Linked DNA regions of Homo sapiens: region 1 is linked to region 2. Evidence: promoter capture Hi-C in 16 types of primary human blood cells and fetal thymus (Javierre and others, 2016). All regions are on one chromosome and are shown on one strand. Each heading gives the region's core, a stretch centred on a gene start or on the middle of the fragment in contact. The rest is flanking DNA. Distances are from core to core; before and after follow the strand shown.

Region 1 (7,034 bases), core at 2,571-5,070, 190 kb after region 2:
TGTCCCCTCCCGACAGCTTACTTTGCAGGGGTCCGTGATATTCTCCCAGCCTCTCCTGCCCAGGCAGCCATCTTCCGCCTGTCTCCCAGTGTCAAGGGAGCTGGCTGCCTCCCCCTCTTGCTCCTACCCACCCTGGCCATCCCATGCTGGCCGATGGTACGCCCTCAGTACTGCCGGCTCATGTCTTACCCCACCCACCCCATCCCAGGCCAAGCTCCAGACCCCACGCCAATGACCAGCCTGACCTCCTTCCCTTTACTGCCAACGCTGACCCACCAGCACCCGGTGGTGTTAGCTCCAGCCCTGTTTCTCCTCCAATGCAGGCCGCCACCACCCTCCCCTTCACCCACATCCACCAAGCTGTCAGCCCTGGCATTTCTAGGCCCCCTCCCACTCGCAGCTGCTGACCATAGGCTCTTCCTCCCACCACTTCAGCAGGTCCCCCAGAGCACCTACCAGCCACCCAAGGAGCAGCAGCAGCTGGAGACAGTCAAGAGGTACAACCGCCGAAAGGCCGAGGTGAGCTGTGTGCGACCCCTGCCTTCCTAGAGACCCCATATGAGGGATGTGTGAAGGGAAGGTGGGGTGGGGAGAGGGAAGAGGAGGCAAGAGGGGGAGGCTGGGTGGAAGTTCGTCCTCCCATGGCCTGGAGGACACTGGGCAGAGGCTGGTGGGACTGGAGCCGCTGTGTCACTGTGGCAGGAGCTGCTGCTGAGGGCAAACATCGAGGAACTGCGCTGCGCCATGCCCAGGTCCTGCAGGGAGCGAGTGCAGGTACCGCCCAGCTCTCTCAAGACCCATCATCGAGGTGCCATCTTCTCAAGCCATCAGAAAGTTCCTCCCAACGCCATCGCAGTGACCACTTATGTAGCCTTTTCCCACTGAGGGCCGGGGAGGGGCGGATTCCCAGTAGCACTGGGAAAGTGTGCCTTGAGCCCACTGCGATGTGGCCCCTAAGCAGGCGGGTGTAGACGCGCACCCACATCCCCCAGGAGGAAGCTCACGGGAAAGCACCTGCAGGTGCTGCCTCTGGGTATCTCCAGATGTTCCGTGACAAGCATTTCATGTCTCTGTAAGGAAAAAACAAACCCAGGTATGTTTGCCAATAAAGAAAAAGCAAGGTAATGACGACAGGAGAGACTGTGCCTGGCGGGGCTCACTCAGGAGCACGGCCCCGCTGGGTGGCAAGGGTCCCACCATGAGGGCAGGCCCGGGCTGGGCAGCCCATATGGTGCATGCCGCGGGGCTGCAATGACCGAGTGCTCAGAGGGGTGGCCTTTGCAGCCACTCCCCTCACTGCAGCTTGCGGTGCCCACCCTGGGATGTGTTGGCAAAGCAGCTGGCGGCTGGGCCGGGAGCAGACAGGCTCGGGGAGAGGCCATGGGGGCCAGCCAGACCCCAGCTCTGGGGGTGGCTGAGGAGAGGGCCACTGAGCCCTGAGGCCAAGTTGTCCTGACTGGGAAGCACTGTTCCCAGGCCCACAGGCCCTGCACCCTCCCTGTTCCAGCCTGGGTGGAACCACAGCAAGGCTTGGGGGGCATTGGAAGATAGAGACCCTGACCTGGCGTGGTGGTAGGGATGGGCAGCTGGGGGGAGGATGAAGAGGGGTGAGCCAGGCCTCCCCAGGGTGCTGGGCCAGCATCCACCTGGTATGTGTTTGGGGGCACCCAGCAGGCACAGGTGCCAGGCGGCCAGCTCTGCCCTGACTCCTGCAGGGCTCCAAGCAGCAGCTGCGGCTTCAGTTCCCACCCCGAATCCGAAAGACTCCGAAGCTGACCTTCTATAGGGTGAGGGGTGCTCCTGGATGGTCAGGCTGCTCTCCCTGGGCACCCACCCCTCCAGACCTTTTCTGCCCGTAGAGGCTCAGATGACCTGAGCTGGGGGACCTAGAGTCCCAAGGACGGCCCCACCCTGGGGGATAGGGAAGCACCTGGGCAGGGGGCAGGTGTGACGGGCATGAGGGCAGGATGGGCATTTGCTGCTCCCAAGGGTCTCCTCAAGCCCCCACCACAGCCAGTCCCCAATCCCGCAGCCTGACAACATCCTGGTCAAGCTGAACACCACAGCCATCCTGCGAGAAGGGGCCTTGTACCAGCGGCAGGTGGAGCAGGAGCTGCAGAGGTGAAGGGCGGCAGGCCCCCCCACCTGCCTTCCACGGCATCACCCTTGAGAGGAAAGGCTCAGAGGAGGGGCCTGGGGGCTGGGCAGCTCAGTGGAGAGGGACTCGGGGGTCACAACAGGCTGTGGTCCTGCAGCAACAGGGGCGACAAGCAGGACTGTGTCAGGGTCCCAGGTGCATCTTACAAAGATCATGCCGGCTCAGTGAGGGGCATGAATGGGGCTGGAGGGACTTAGCAAAGGCCCAACCCACACCAAACCTCCCTTGGGGTTACCTCCTCCCTGGACCCCTTCCTGATGCCCCCATCTCCTAGACCACCAGGGCTGCAAACCCCTGTGCTTACCCCATGCGGTGTGGTCGTGTCTTTCCTTGTCTGCAAGTCAGGCTGTGGGGGGAGCATGGGTGTCTGACCAGATGGTGGAGTGGACGCACAGATGGTGCACAGGGGCAAGGGTGGCCAGGCTAGCAGAGGACAGAAGGTTGATGGATGGACAGATGATGGACACAGGGTTGGTGGATGGACAGACAGTTGGACAGAGTGAGGGTAGACAAACAAGTGGATGAAGGGAGGGGTGGGTGGATGGGGCTGATGGGTGGACGCACAGAAAGGGGGACCAGGGGATGGGTGGACAGTGGGTCGGGGATAGGAGGAAGGGCAGGCCACGCAGCTGGGTGTCAGGAGTAGCAGCCCACGCCTGCGCAGCCACTGTCCCTCAGGAAAACCTGTGACCACCCAGCAGCCTCTGTCACGGGAGAAACCCCAAGCTGTGCTTCTGTCCCTCTTTGCCCAGGGTTGATAAGCTCGTGGATGGGGCTGGGGACTTCTCTGAGTTCTTCGAGTGGCAGAAGAAGATGCAGGCGAAGGACCGGGAGGAGCAGCTGGCTGCAAGCGAGTGCCGGCGGTTGCAAGGGAAGCTTAGCCATGAGGAGGCCGTCCTAGCCCGGCAGAGCCTCATGCAGGAGAACAAGCAGAGGGTGGAGCAGCAGAAGGAGCAGGTGGGTGCCATGCAGGGCAGCTGGGCATGGGGCAGCCAGCTGAACTGTGTGCCCACCGGGAGCTGCAGGGCCAGGGCTGGCAGTGGAGCTGAGTGTCCACAGCGCCCCCGTAGAAGCTACTGATGTGTTGGTCCTGGCTCCTCTTCCTCCTCGAAGGACACACTGCCTAGGTGGGCACGCTCAGCCTGTGTTCCCCGAGAGTGCCTGCTCCTTCCAGTGGGCCTCACAGTGGCCTGGACCAGCGGGGAGCCTCAGCCCCAGGAGGCCGGCCTGTATACTCTCTCCTGGGACGTATCCCTTTGCAGGCCTGCGGTCAGGGACTTGATCAAAGGTCACTCAGATTGCTTCTTTTGATAGTTTCATCTGTGTCTGTATTCAATTTTAAGGTTTGCCTTTTCTTTCCTTTTTACTTTTTTAAAAAAATATGAAGGCCAGGCCAGGCATGGTGGCTCACACCTATAATCCCAGCACTTTAGGAGGCCAAGGCCAGAAGATCACTTGAGCCTAGGAGTTCAAGATCAGCCTGAGCAACATAGCAAAATCCCGTCTCTGTAAAAAATACAAAAATTAGCCGGGCATGGTGGTGCGTGCCCGTAGTGCCACCTACTCGGGAGGCTGAGGTAGGAGGATCACGTGAGCCTGGAAGGTCAAGGTTGCAGTGAGCCGTGATCATGCCACTGCACTCCATCCTGGGCGACAGAGCGTAACTGTCTCAAAAACAAAACAAACAAACAAAAATGAAGTCTAAACAATATGAAAAGGTAGACTCAGAGAAGTCTCACCTCTTGTAAGTCTATAACTTACAACCCATTTCCACCTTCCTTTGTTGGTCCTTCCTTTCATTAATTTCTGGATTACCTTTCCCGTCTTTCGAAGCAAATAACACACTTGTATATACATAGTTTGTCCTTCCCTTTTTTGTTACATAAAAGGTCACACCTTGCTTTATCTGCAAAGAATAATGTGCAAGACTTTCACCTTTGCAGAGCTGGATTTTCAGGGTAAACTTCTAGAGGAAGTTATATTTCCAGATGTCACACCAAAGAGTAACTGGATACGCAGGAGTCCTTGCCGTTTGGGACGCGTGGTTTTACTAAATATGGCCAATCGTCTCCCTGGTACTTTTACCATCTTCACTCCACCAAAGTGTGAGAGGGGTCTGATCCGCATGCCCCGCCACAGAGTGTACCAGGCTGAATTCGTGAATTTGTGCCAATTTCATGGGTCAGAAATAGTATCTTGGTATAGTTCTGATTTGCATCTCATTTATTTATCAGTGAATTTGAGCAAATGTCCACATATACATATATAAATGATTTGTGTCTATTTCTGTGAACCGTCTGTCCATGTCTTTTGTCCATTTTCTATTGCACTTTTGACCTTCATTTCCCTGACTTTTTTTTTTTTTTTGGTTCTTTATTTATTTAACTTGACAAATGCAATTGAATATATTTGTGATATATAACATGATTTTTTTTTTTTTTTAAGATGGAAGCTTGCTCTGTCGCCCAGGCTGGAGTGCGGTGGTGTGATCTCAGCTCACTGCAACTTCCGCCTCCCGGGTTCAAGTGATTCTCCTGCCTCAGTCTCCTGAGTAGCTGGGACTACAGGCGAGCACCACCATGCATGGCTAATTTTTGTTTTTTGGTTTTTGGTTTTTTTTTCTTTTTGAGACAGAGTCTTGCTCTGTCGCCCGGGCTGGAGTGCAGTGGCATGATCATGGCTCACTGCAACCTCCACCTCCTGGGTTTAAGAAATTCTCTGCCTCAGCCTCCTGAATAGCTGGTATTATAGGCGCATGCCACAATGCCCAGCTATTTCTTTTTTTGTATTTGTAGTAGAGATGAGGTTTCACCATCTTGGTCAAGCTGGTCTTGAACTCCTGGCCTCGTGATCCACCCACCTCGGCCTCCCAAATTGCTGGGATTACAGGCATGAGCCACCGTGCCCGGCCTACTTTTTGTATTTTTAGTAGAGATGGGTTTTCACTGTGTTGGCCAGGCTGGTCTCAAACTCCTGACCTCAAGTGATCCACCTGTCTCAGCCTCCCAAAGTGCTGGGATTACAGGTGGAAGCCACCACGCCCGGCCTAACATGATCTTTTGGAATACAAATACATTGTGGAATGGCTAAATCAAGCTAATTAACATATGCATTATCTCACATACTTATTCCTGGTAAGAACACTTACAATCTACTCTCTTAGCAATTTTTCTTTTTTTGTTGTTTTTTTTCTTTTTTTTTTTTGTTTTTTTTTTTTTTTGGTTTTTGTTTTGTTTTTGTTTTTGTTTTTGAGACAGAGTCTCACTCTGTCACCCAGGCTGGAGTGCAGTGGGTTGATCTCAGCTCAGTGCAACCTCTGCCTCCCAGGGTCAGGCGGTTATCCTGCCTCAGCCTCCTGCGTAGCCGGGACCACAGATGCACACCACCATGTCTGGATAATTTTTGTATTTTTAGTAGAGACAAGGTTTCACCATGTTGGCCAGGCTGGTCTCAAACTCCTGACCTCAAGTGATCTGCCCACTTCAGCCTCCCAAAGTGCTGGGATTACAGGTGTGAGCCACCATGCCCGGCCACAGTTTTTCTTTTTTGAGACAGGGTCTCACTCTGTCGCCCAGGCTGGAGCGCAGTGGCATGATCTTGGCTCACTGCAACCTCTGCCTCTCAGGCTCAAACCATCCTCCCATCTCAGCCTCCCAAGCAGGTGAAACTGCAGGCGTGCACCACCTTTTTAGGAGAGACACAGTTTCGCCATGTTGCCCAGGCTGGTCTCTAACTCCGGGGCTCAAGTGATTCACCTGCCTCAGTCTCCCAAAATACTGGGATTACGGAAATGCGCCTCTGCGCCCAGCCTAATGTTCTTTATATGTTAGGAAAAATAATCCTTTATAATAGATTGTTGCAGATTGCTTTTTTTCCAGTTTGTCATTTGACTTTGTATATGAGGTTTATGATGGGTGTTTGCCATGCAAATATTCTTTTTATGTCTTCAAATTTAACAGTCTTTTCTTGTGTTGTGTTTGGAGTTAGAAAATGCCACTCTTGGCTGGGTGTGGTGGCTCACGCCTGTAATCTCAGCACTTTGGGAGGCCAAAGCAGGGCGATCACCTGAGGTCAGGCATTCAAGACCAGCCTGGCCAACATGGTGAAACCCCATGTCTACTAAAAAAACAAACAAACAAACAAACAAAAATTAGCTGGGTGTGGTGGCACACCCACGTAATCCCACCAACTCAGGAGGCTGAGGCATGAGAATCGCTTGAACCCAGGAGGTGGAGGTTGCAGTGAGCCAACATCATGCTATTGCATTCCAGCTTGGGTGACAGAGTGAGACCGTCTCAAATAAAAAAAAGAAAATGCCGCTCTCCTCACACCAGGTTACACAGGGATTCTCAGTCTTCTCTACTGGTCTAAGGATGTCTAGCTACATGCATTCATGTGACTAATATTTTTTCTTACTAAATTAACTAGATTAGGTGGCACTAAATATTTGAAGTAAAAAGAATTTTAGTTTTTCTTATGCAGTTCATATTGGAGTGATTGCTTTTACAGCCTCAATGTGTTTTAATGAACTATAACTTTTGTTTCTGCTTGAGGTCCTAGTACCACAACCCGACGCATGGGCACCCTTTCATCTCCTCCTCTGAACTTTGGGCACTGCTCAAGAGCCTTTGGAAGCATCTTTTCCATTGAGAGGAGAGATGTTTGGGGTCTACCTGAATGTTCTCTGCTTAAGACACAGACTCAGTTATTCTCCAAGGAACCTCTGTGCCTCATAGAAGCCAGTATTGAGTTCCCTATCTGGGTGCTTTTCTGTTTTTTTCAACAGTTACCAGGTTTTTTTTGTTTTGTTTTATTTTATTTTTTTGGGAGATGCGGTTTTGCCATGTTGGCCAGGCTGGTCTCAAACTCCCAGCCT
Region 2 (7,458 bases), core at 2,951-5,450:
AACGCACCACACACCCTCAGTAAAAGGGTGGGCCAGGTGTCGGGCTCATGTGGGGAACTGGGGGGTCACTTACCTGTGCTTTTCTAGCTCGTTGTGTGAAGACCTGTTTAGAAAGACAGAAAGACAGAGCTCACTCTTCTGCCTGCCCACCAGGGCACAGAGAGCAGTGCTCTCCTAGGGGGCCAGGACCTGCAGACAGTGGCTGGCTGTGTCTGGGTCCTGGAATGGCCCAGAGCAGTGAGGCCTGGGGCAGGTGAGCAGTTGCCCACCCAGGGTGGGGGGAACCACATGCTAAGGGTGGGCGCTGGTTGTCAGCTTTGGGTACTCCGTGCCGGGGGAGCCGCAGCTCACGCCCTGGAGTTCTCCATGGGTCAGGGACTTGGTTTGGTGAGAAGCAGCAGCAGGGGCCAGCCTTGCTTACAGGGAGGCCCAGAGCTGCAGGCAGGTCCAGGGCGCCCAGGGCCACCAGCCCACCTAGCAAGGCCCGTGGTGAATCTGGCTGACAGGAGGACCTAGGCCCCCTTCCAGAGGGATGGGGGAGGCCCAGGGAGCAGCAACAGGTCCTGGCGCTGACCCCCACCAGCCACCTGCCTTCCCTGCTCCCCAATCCCTGAGGCCAGCTGTGTCCTTGGAGCCAAAGCAGCCTAGCACCCGGGACAAACAGCAGGTGGAGATGGAGCCCAGAGACCAGGCCCTCAGGACACAGGTGGTCCTGTCCTGACACCACCACTCTCTCGGGCTCACACACCTGCGTGACCACAGCCCACCTTACCAATGGGGACCAGGGACACAGCAGCGTCAGCCAGGTCAGCCCATGAGGGGGCTTCTGAGATGTGGATGCTTCCCAGGCCAGTAGGCACAGGGGGACACTGAGGCCAGCCCTCCCACTTCCCTCAGGGGCTGTGCTAGCAGGATGGGCTGCCCTGGAGGCCCGGGCTCAGCTTCTCTGGGGACAGTGGCCCCACCTGCTGCTCACCTGTCTTGCCCATTCAGACGCGGGCACACAATTCCCAGCACCACAGGGTGTGCCACAGCATCTGCCTGGAGGATAACGAGGCAGGGGGACCTCGCTCCCAGCTCCAGGCCACCTTCCGTGTCCAGGCAGGACCCCACAGGCCAGCCAGGGCTCCCGGGCCTCCCAGGATGCCGCTGCACAGGTGGGCAGAGAGCTCAGACTGCCTCGGGGCACCTCCAGACCCAGCCCTGAGGCCTCTCCCTGCCCTCAGGACCTGGCTCCTTCCTGAAGCTTCTTGCTGACCACTGCCTGCTTCAGGAACTTGGGATCTGGCGTCTCCTGTCCCAACCACTCAGGCCAAGGGCCTGCCCCTCCCACCCGCTGCACCAACAGGCCCTGGGCCTCCTTGTGTAGCCTCAGCAGAGCCTCCAGACCCAGGTCTCAGGGTCCGGGAGGGCCTGTTGGTCACATGGGCTGGACAAGGAGCCTCCGAATCACTGCCAGGGCCAGCCAGGGCCGACCAGGGCCAGCAGAGGCCACAGCCATATGCTCCTCACTGGCCTCACAGAGATAGGCCCCTACGCCAGCGTTTCTGCTTCCCCAGAATAGGCAGGCCGCAGGAATGAGCCGTACTCTCTGTCCTCAGCCCAAACTGCAGCCTGGCCACGTGGGTCTGTAGTCAAGAGGGAGGTCGGGGTCAGCAGGTGCCCTTCAACATAAAAGCCTACCTGCCTACCCCTTGAAGGGTGGCACGGGGCTGGACCCCACCCTGGAGGCAGGGGGCCCTCCTCCAGCAGCCAGGGCCCCTCTTGCAGCTCCTCCTGGGCCCAGAGACCCTTGGGGTCCATCGAGGGGGATGTTTGCAACATGGGTCCCAGGAGCACTCTATCCCTCAGGAGAGGTGGGACCTGTCCCCGCTGAGGCCAGGCCAAGTGCGTTCCCAGCATTCCCGTGACCCCAGGAGACAAGCACACTTCCCACAGAATGGACCCCCCTGCAGGCTGGCCCCAGTGCTCTGCCGCCTCCCTCAACCCTGACACTGTCCTCCGGCCCCACTCCCTACCCTTGCCCCAGCCTCACTGTGCCATGTCCCCTCCCTCACCTTGGCAGAGCATGGAAGCCTCACAGGTGGGGACAAGTCAGGGGCTCAGAGATCCTCTGGCCCCCTGCTCCGCCCAGCTACTTGTCTGGGCTGGCTGAGGAAACCTCCAGGGCAGTGCTGCCCACCCGAGGAAGGGGCCAAGCCGCCAGCCCTGGGCTGCCTCAGGCCCCGGGGGAGCGGGGCTCGGCCCAGAGGAGCCAGGGGAGATGCACCAGAGTTGGGGAGCCCTCTGTCTCCCTCACCAGTGCCCCCATGGTCTCTGTCCCAGCAGAATGTGGACAGCTGGGACCCCATCTCAGGAACAGGCGTCATCAGAGATGGGTGAGTGGCAGGCAAGTAACCAAACCTCTCCTTGCCTCAGTTTCCTTGGCCATAGAGATAAAAATCACATCACCTCTCTGAGCCTGGGGTGAAGATGAACTGGCTGCATGTGTGAAACGCTCAGCATAGAGGCAGTGTTCGGGCAGCCTTGGCCAGGACGCTGGTTGTCAGCTTTGGATTCTCCATGCTGGGGGAGCCCCAGCTCACGCCCCAGAGTTCTCCACGGGTCAGGGACTTGGTTTGGAGAGAAGCGGCAGCGGGGGCCGGGCTTGCTCACTGAGGAGGCCTGAGGCAATGGTTCCCTCGTCACACTCCTGTCCTTCCCCAAACTGTCCCCAGTAGGGGACCAGGGGCTGGGACTCAGGGACGGGTCCCAGCCAGGGCAGCTGGAGACTCAACCAATTCCTCGCCTGGCTCAGGATGCCACAGAAATGGGTCCCTACACCAGCCTTTCGGATTCCCTAGAACAGGTGGACCACAGGAATGAGCCATGCCCTGGGGCTCTGAAGCCCCCTACAAACGCAGCTCCCAGCCTGCTCACACAAAAGGGCTGGGCCAAGGTGGGCCCAGACAGGACCAGGTGTGCTATGGTCCTCACAGCAGCCAGGAGGGTGGAAATCCCCGGGGAGCCCCGGCCCAGGGTCCCCACTCCCCACGCGGGGGACCTGTACGCACCCCAGCTTCAGGGCTTCTGCTGCCTGAACACGAGGTCAAGGTATGGAGGGCGCAGCTGGCACCCGTAGTAACGACTTCATGGGGCCCCTGCCCTGCAGCCTGCCCCCTCCTCCCGCCCCCTTAAAAGGCCTCTGTCTTAAAAAAGAGGACCCCCATACTGGTGGCTGGAGTTTCGCTGTGTCAGGAGGCTGGGCAGAAGCGGTGGGCACCCTGGGAGGAGTGAGGGCCCAGGACAGCGCCTCCACTCGCTTCTCTGTCTAGGCTCCTGGGGGCGGGGGAAGGTGGCCGAGCAGCAGAGTTCGGCTGGCAGAGCCAGTCGAAAGGAGGCCGCCCACCCACCCGCGGAGAGAAGGGGTTAGGGCCGGCAGCCCCCGCAGACCCTGGCTGAGCCTGTTTCCCCAGACCCACGGGGCACCGGCCAGCGCCCGCTGACAACTTTTCTACCGCCTGGAAAAGTCCAGAACAACTCGGGGGCGGGGAGCGGGCGCGGGAGCGGACCCCGGCGGCGGGCGCTGTACGCGTGGCACTGTTTACGCGAGCGGCCCGGGAGGCGCGGCCGCGGGAAGATGGCGACGGCGAGGGCGGGGCCGGCCGGGCGGGGCTGCGGCCGCGGCCTGCGCGCCTCCTCCTCCAGGCTGGCCGCCGGGGCGCGCGGCGGCGGCGCTGAGGGCCGCGGGCCGGGAATCGGGGCCCGGAGAGCACGCTCCGGGCGGGGGCGGGGGTTCGGACCGGGCCGGGCGGGGTCGGGAGCGGGGGGCGGTACCTGTTGTTCGGGGCCTTGCGCACCAGGCCGGCCGCCTTTGTTTTCTCCCTGGCGAAGTCGCCGTCGAAGGGCAGCACCGAGGCGTAGCCGTGCTCGGCCTCTGCGGACACACGGCGCGGTCAGCGGCCCCCGCCCGGCACGGCCCCGCCGCCCGCCCACCGCCGCGGGCGCACAATGGGGTGCGAGCGCTACCTCGATCCCTGCGCTCCAGGTACTCGGCCGCCTCCAGCAGGATCAGCAGGGAGTTCAGCTCCATCCTCCCGCCCGCGCCCGTCCGCCCCGGGACGGCGGCGGCCGCTGCCCGGCCCGCTCCGGCCGGCTCCGCTCGCCGCCCACCCCGCGCGCCCGGCCGCCGCACTTCCAGACTCCGCGGACTCCGGCGCTCGGCCGCCACCCTCCGCCTCAGGCCCTCAAATTGACACATAAGGGAGAGCGGCGGCCCGCAGAGCCAATGGGAGGCGGCGTTCGCGCCCCGGGGGCGGGCGCCGGGCCGGGCTGGGGCCAATGGGGACGGGTCGAGCGCCTCGGGCCGGGCCGAGAATGTTGACAGATGCAGAGCTGGGCTGGGATAGGCCGGCCGCGCTAGTAACAATTTAGAAGCCCGAGCTTAGCAACAGCACGTGGTGGCCCGGCCCCCGCGCTAGCTGACTGGCGGCCGCCGTGCATGTTAAGTAGGCGCCGCGCGCCGATTGGCCAGAGCGGCCTATGTAAAACAGGCACTGCGAGCCAATGGCCGGTGGCGGGGCGCGCGGCCAATGAGGGCGCCGCAGCCGGACGCGTTGCCGAGAGGAAGCGCAGCGCGCGGGGACCGCCCGCCGTCCTGGGGGCCCGTTAGGACGCAGGAGCGTCTCCGCTACGAGAGCGAAGCAGGGCGCTCCGGGGCGTGCGCCGGGCCGGGCCGGGCCGCCGGGTCTGAGCGCGACGAAAGCAGTGGCTGCGTGGGGGGACGAGGCCTCGCGCTCTGCCCGGGGGTCTTGCGTGGGGCCGTGAACGACTCCCCTCCCCGCCGGGCGCAGAGTGGCCCCGGGAAGGGCCGGGACCTCGGAGAGGGACGCAGACGCTCTGATCCTAAGAGCCAGGCGTCTCTGAGGGTGTCAGTGGGGAAACAGGCCCAGAGCGGGCGGGCTCCTCAGATCGCCCAGTGGACGCCGGAGCTGAGGGAGGGCCCAGGTCTGGGGAAGGGACACAGACGTGCGGCCAGAGTCGAGAGGCTCCCCGGAGTGGGGGGCTGCATGCTCTGTGTCTGGCCTGAGGGGCAGGGACGTTCCTAGAGGCAGGCGCTGGCCACCTCTGGCCGAGGACGCCCTAAGTGGGGACGGGAGTGAACCCTTCATCAAATCCCAGCTGGCGGGTCTCCCTAGTGACCCCTGACCCTAAGGCTGGCCCAGACTGGCCTCGGCACCCCCCACCCTCTCGCAGATTTTTTTTTTTTTTTTTTTTGAGACGGCTCTGTTGCCCAGGCTGGAATGCAGTGGCGTGATGTCAGTTCACTGCAACCTCCGCCTCCCGGGTTCAAGCGATTCCCCTGCCTCAGCCTCCCAAGTAGCTGGGACTACAGGCGCGTGCCACCACGCCCAGCTAATTTTTGTATTTTTAGTAGAGATGGGGTTTCACCATGGATGGTCTGGATCTCCTGACCTCGTGATCCGCCCGCCTCGGCCTCCCAAAGTTCTGGGATTACAGGTGTGAGCCACCTCGCCCGACCCATCTCACTGATTTGATTTTTGAGGTTGGTGGCCTGGATGTGCCAAGGGCCAGGCCCCGCAGGCTGGAGAGTGTGGAGGCATAAGGTGGCTGGACCCCTCCAGAAGTACTCAGTGGGACACAGGGGCTGCTGCTGGCAATGAAACTGAACAAAAAATGCAAAACCTCAGCACCAGGACTCCTGTGAAAGCTTCGTGTGCATCTCCCTGTGTTTTGCATGCCCGGCTTGCAGATCAGGACATGGGACTAGACGCTCAGGGATTTGCTGGGGTCTCCCAGAAATCTCAGCAGAATGGAGATTAGTGCTGCCACACACGGCTCAGGGCTATAGGAATGCAGAGGCCAGAGCCTCCTGGCCTGGCTGGTCCTGCTGGGTGTAAGCCTGTGGTGTGGGCTTCAGAATAATGTGTGTTCCCACAGAGCCCTGCAGGACCCAGTGGGGAACTCGGACACTGCTATGAGACAGCCCTGCATGGACATTGAGACAACCCCCTTGATGTTAGCAGGGGCCCTTCCTGTTCCCGCCCCACAGTGACGCCAGGGCCCAAGGCAGAGCCCCTCACAAGAACTCAGCACTGAGGCCCTCCAGGTTTGTCTGCATGGCTGCTCAGAGCTGTGCATGGTAAAGAAAGGTGCCCAAGTCTGGGGAGGAGCAGGGTGTGTTTGGGCTCTGGGGACCCAGCTCTCCACTTGGGGATGAGCATTTTGCAAAGTTGCCCCATCCCTGCTTTGGCCACTGGGTGAGTTGCTGCCGACAGCTAAAGCGGACACCTGGCCTAGTACAAGTGCACCTGCTGGGCATAGTGCACGCCCCCTTCCTGCCATGGGCCAAGAGATTTGTTCTGTGTGGCAGTGGGCAGCACAGGTGCGCAGGTGTGTCTATGGGGAGGCACCTGCATGCTACCCCAGTCTAAGAGATTTTTAGCCTCAATTTAGGCCATTTAAGGACTCACCCTCACCTCCCCACCACACTGAGGACCAAGCACTTCCCTGGTGTCCCTGGGCTCAAACCTTGCCTGGTAGTGTGGGCACCACTGCCTGGGGGAGCAGGAAGGAGTTGGGGTTGGGAGGAGAAGCTGCAGGAGGCGATGGATGACTGAGGGCTGAGCTGCAGCTAGGGAGGGAGGTACTGGAGGCATCGGCCAGCAATGGCAGGAGGAGAGGGAAGGGGAGGGAGCAGCCAGGAGAGGCCTGGAGGTGATGTTGGCCTGGCCCAGATGGCTGCAGGTGGGCCTGGAGCCCTGCCAGGAGAGGTCTGGAGCCCCTGGGGGATAGGGGCACTGGTCCCACCTGCAGTTGGCAGGGTCTCTACACCCACGGGTCTCAACTTGTCCTTCCCAAGATGGGCAGAGGCATCTTGGGTCAGTGCCGGCAGGCACCAGTGCCCATGGAGTCTCAGGGGTGGTTGAGGAGTGGGGAGGACGTGGCTCAGGTCAGCCAGTTGGACCCAAGCCCTGCAGGGCATGGGCCATGTCCCCTTCTGTAGGGCAGGTCCCCCGCAGGGTGTGGCATCTCCAGGGAGCTTTCCATGGGCACAAGCTCCTGCCCAGCCCTGCCCTGCCCTTCCCCAGAGCCAGGACCTGTCCAATGGGCACCAATGAAAGCTAGGAGGGAGGGGGCAGACATCTCCAGCCTCCTTCCCTGGGGAGCCCAGTCCCCCCACCCTACTCTGGGAGGACCTCTCTATGCCACTCTGGGACCCCCAGGGTGCATCTCATTCCTGCCCCATCCTCTGAGCCCCACCCAGCCTTACATTCTCCTTGGGTTGTTCGCCCTCTGTCTCCTTTCCCTCACGACGGCCCTCCCCAGCCCACCCCAGGCAGGGGCTCCCAGGGAAGGGACAGGGCCTGCATGCAGAAGGGCTTCCCCGGTTTTGGGTGGAAGGCCACGGCAGGCTTGTCTTCCGCTGCCTGGATTTCCTGAGTTATCTTGCCCCAT

The links. The method cuts DNA at HindIII sites, captures the fragments that hold promoters and counts their contacts. A CHiCAGO score of 5 or more calls a contact.
Region 1: a fragment that was not itself captured here is called in contact with the fragment with the promoter of MXD4 in region 2 in 2 of 17 cell types (endothelial precursors and M1 macrophages); the score reaches 5.3 in endothelial precursors.

The regions. Positions count from the first base shown.
Region 1 is chr4:2,449,232-2,456,265 of GRCh38, forward strand. CFAP99 (cilia and flagella associated protein 99) reads left to right here. Exons shown (of 16, transcript NM_001193282.4): 7 at 439-519; 8 at 703-774; 9 at 1,716-1,787; 10 at 2,033-2,121; 11 at 2,911-3,115. Among named protein-coding and RNA genes, the nearest start is that of RNF4, 16 kb to the right of the region's middle. The HindIII fragment of the contact is 1,576 bases long and covers 3,033-4,608 here.
Region 2 is chr4:2,257,909-2,265,366 of GRCh38, forward strand. It overlaps MXD4 (MAX dimerization protein 4), which reads right to left and starts at 4,201. Exons shown (of 6, transcript NM_006454.3): 1 at 4,009-4,201; 2 at 3,817-3,916; 3 at 74-103. The coding sequence starts at 4,072. RefSeq lists enhancers at 2,728-3,320, 4,552-5,213, 5,214-5,873 and silencers at 3,421-3,480, 3,491-3,880, 3,971-4,030, 4,081-4,920. The HindIII fragment of the contact is 4,464 bases long and covers 1,245-5,708 here.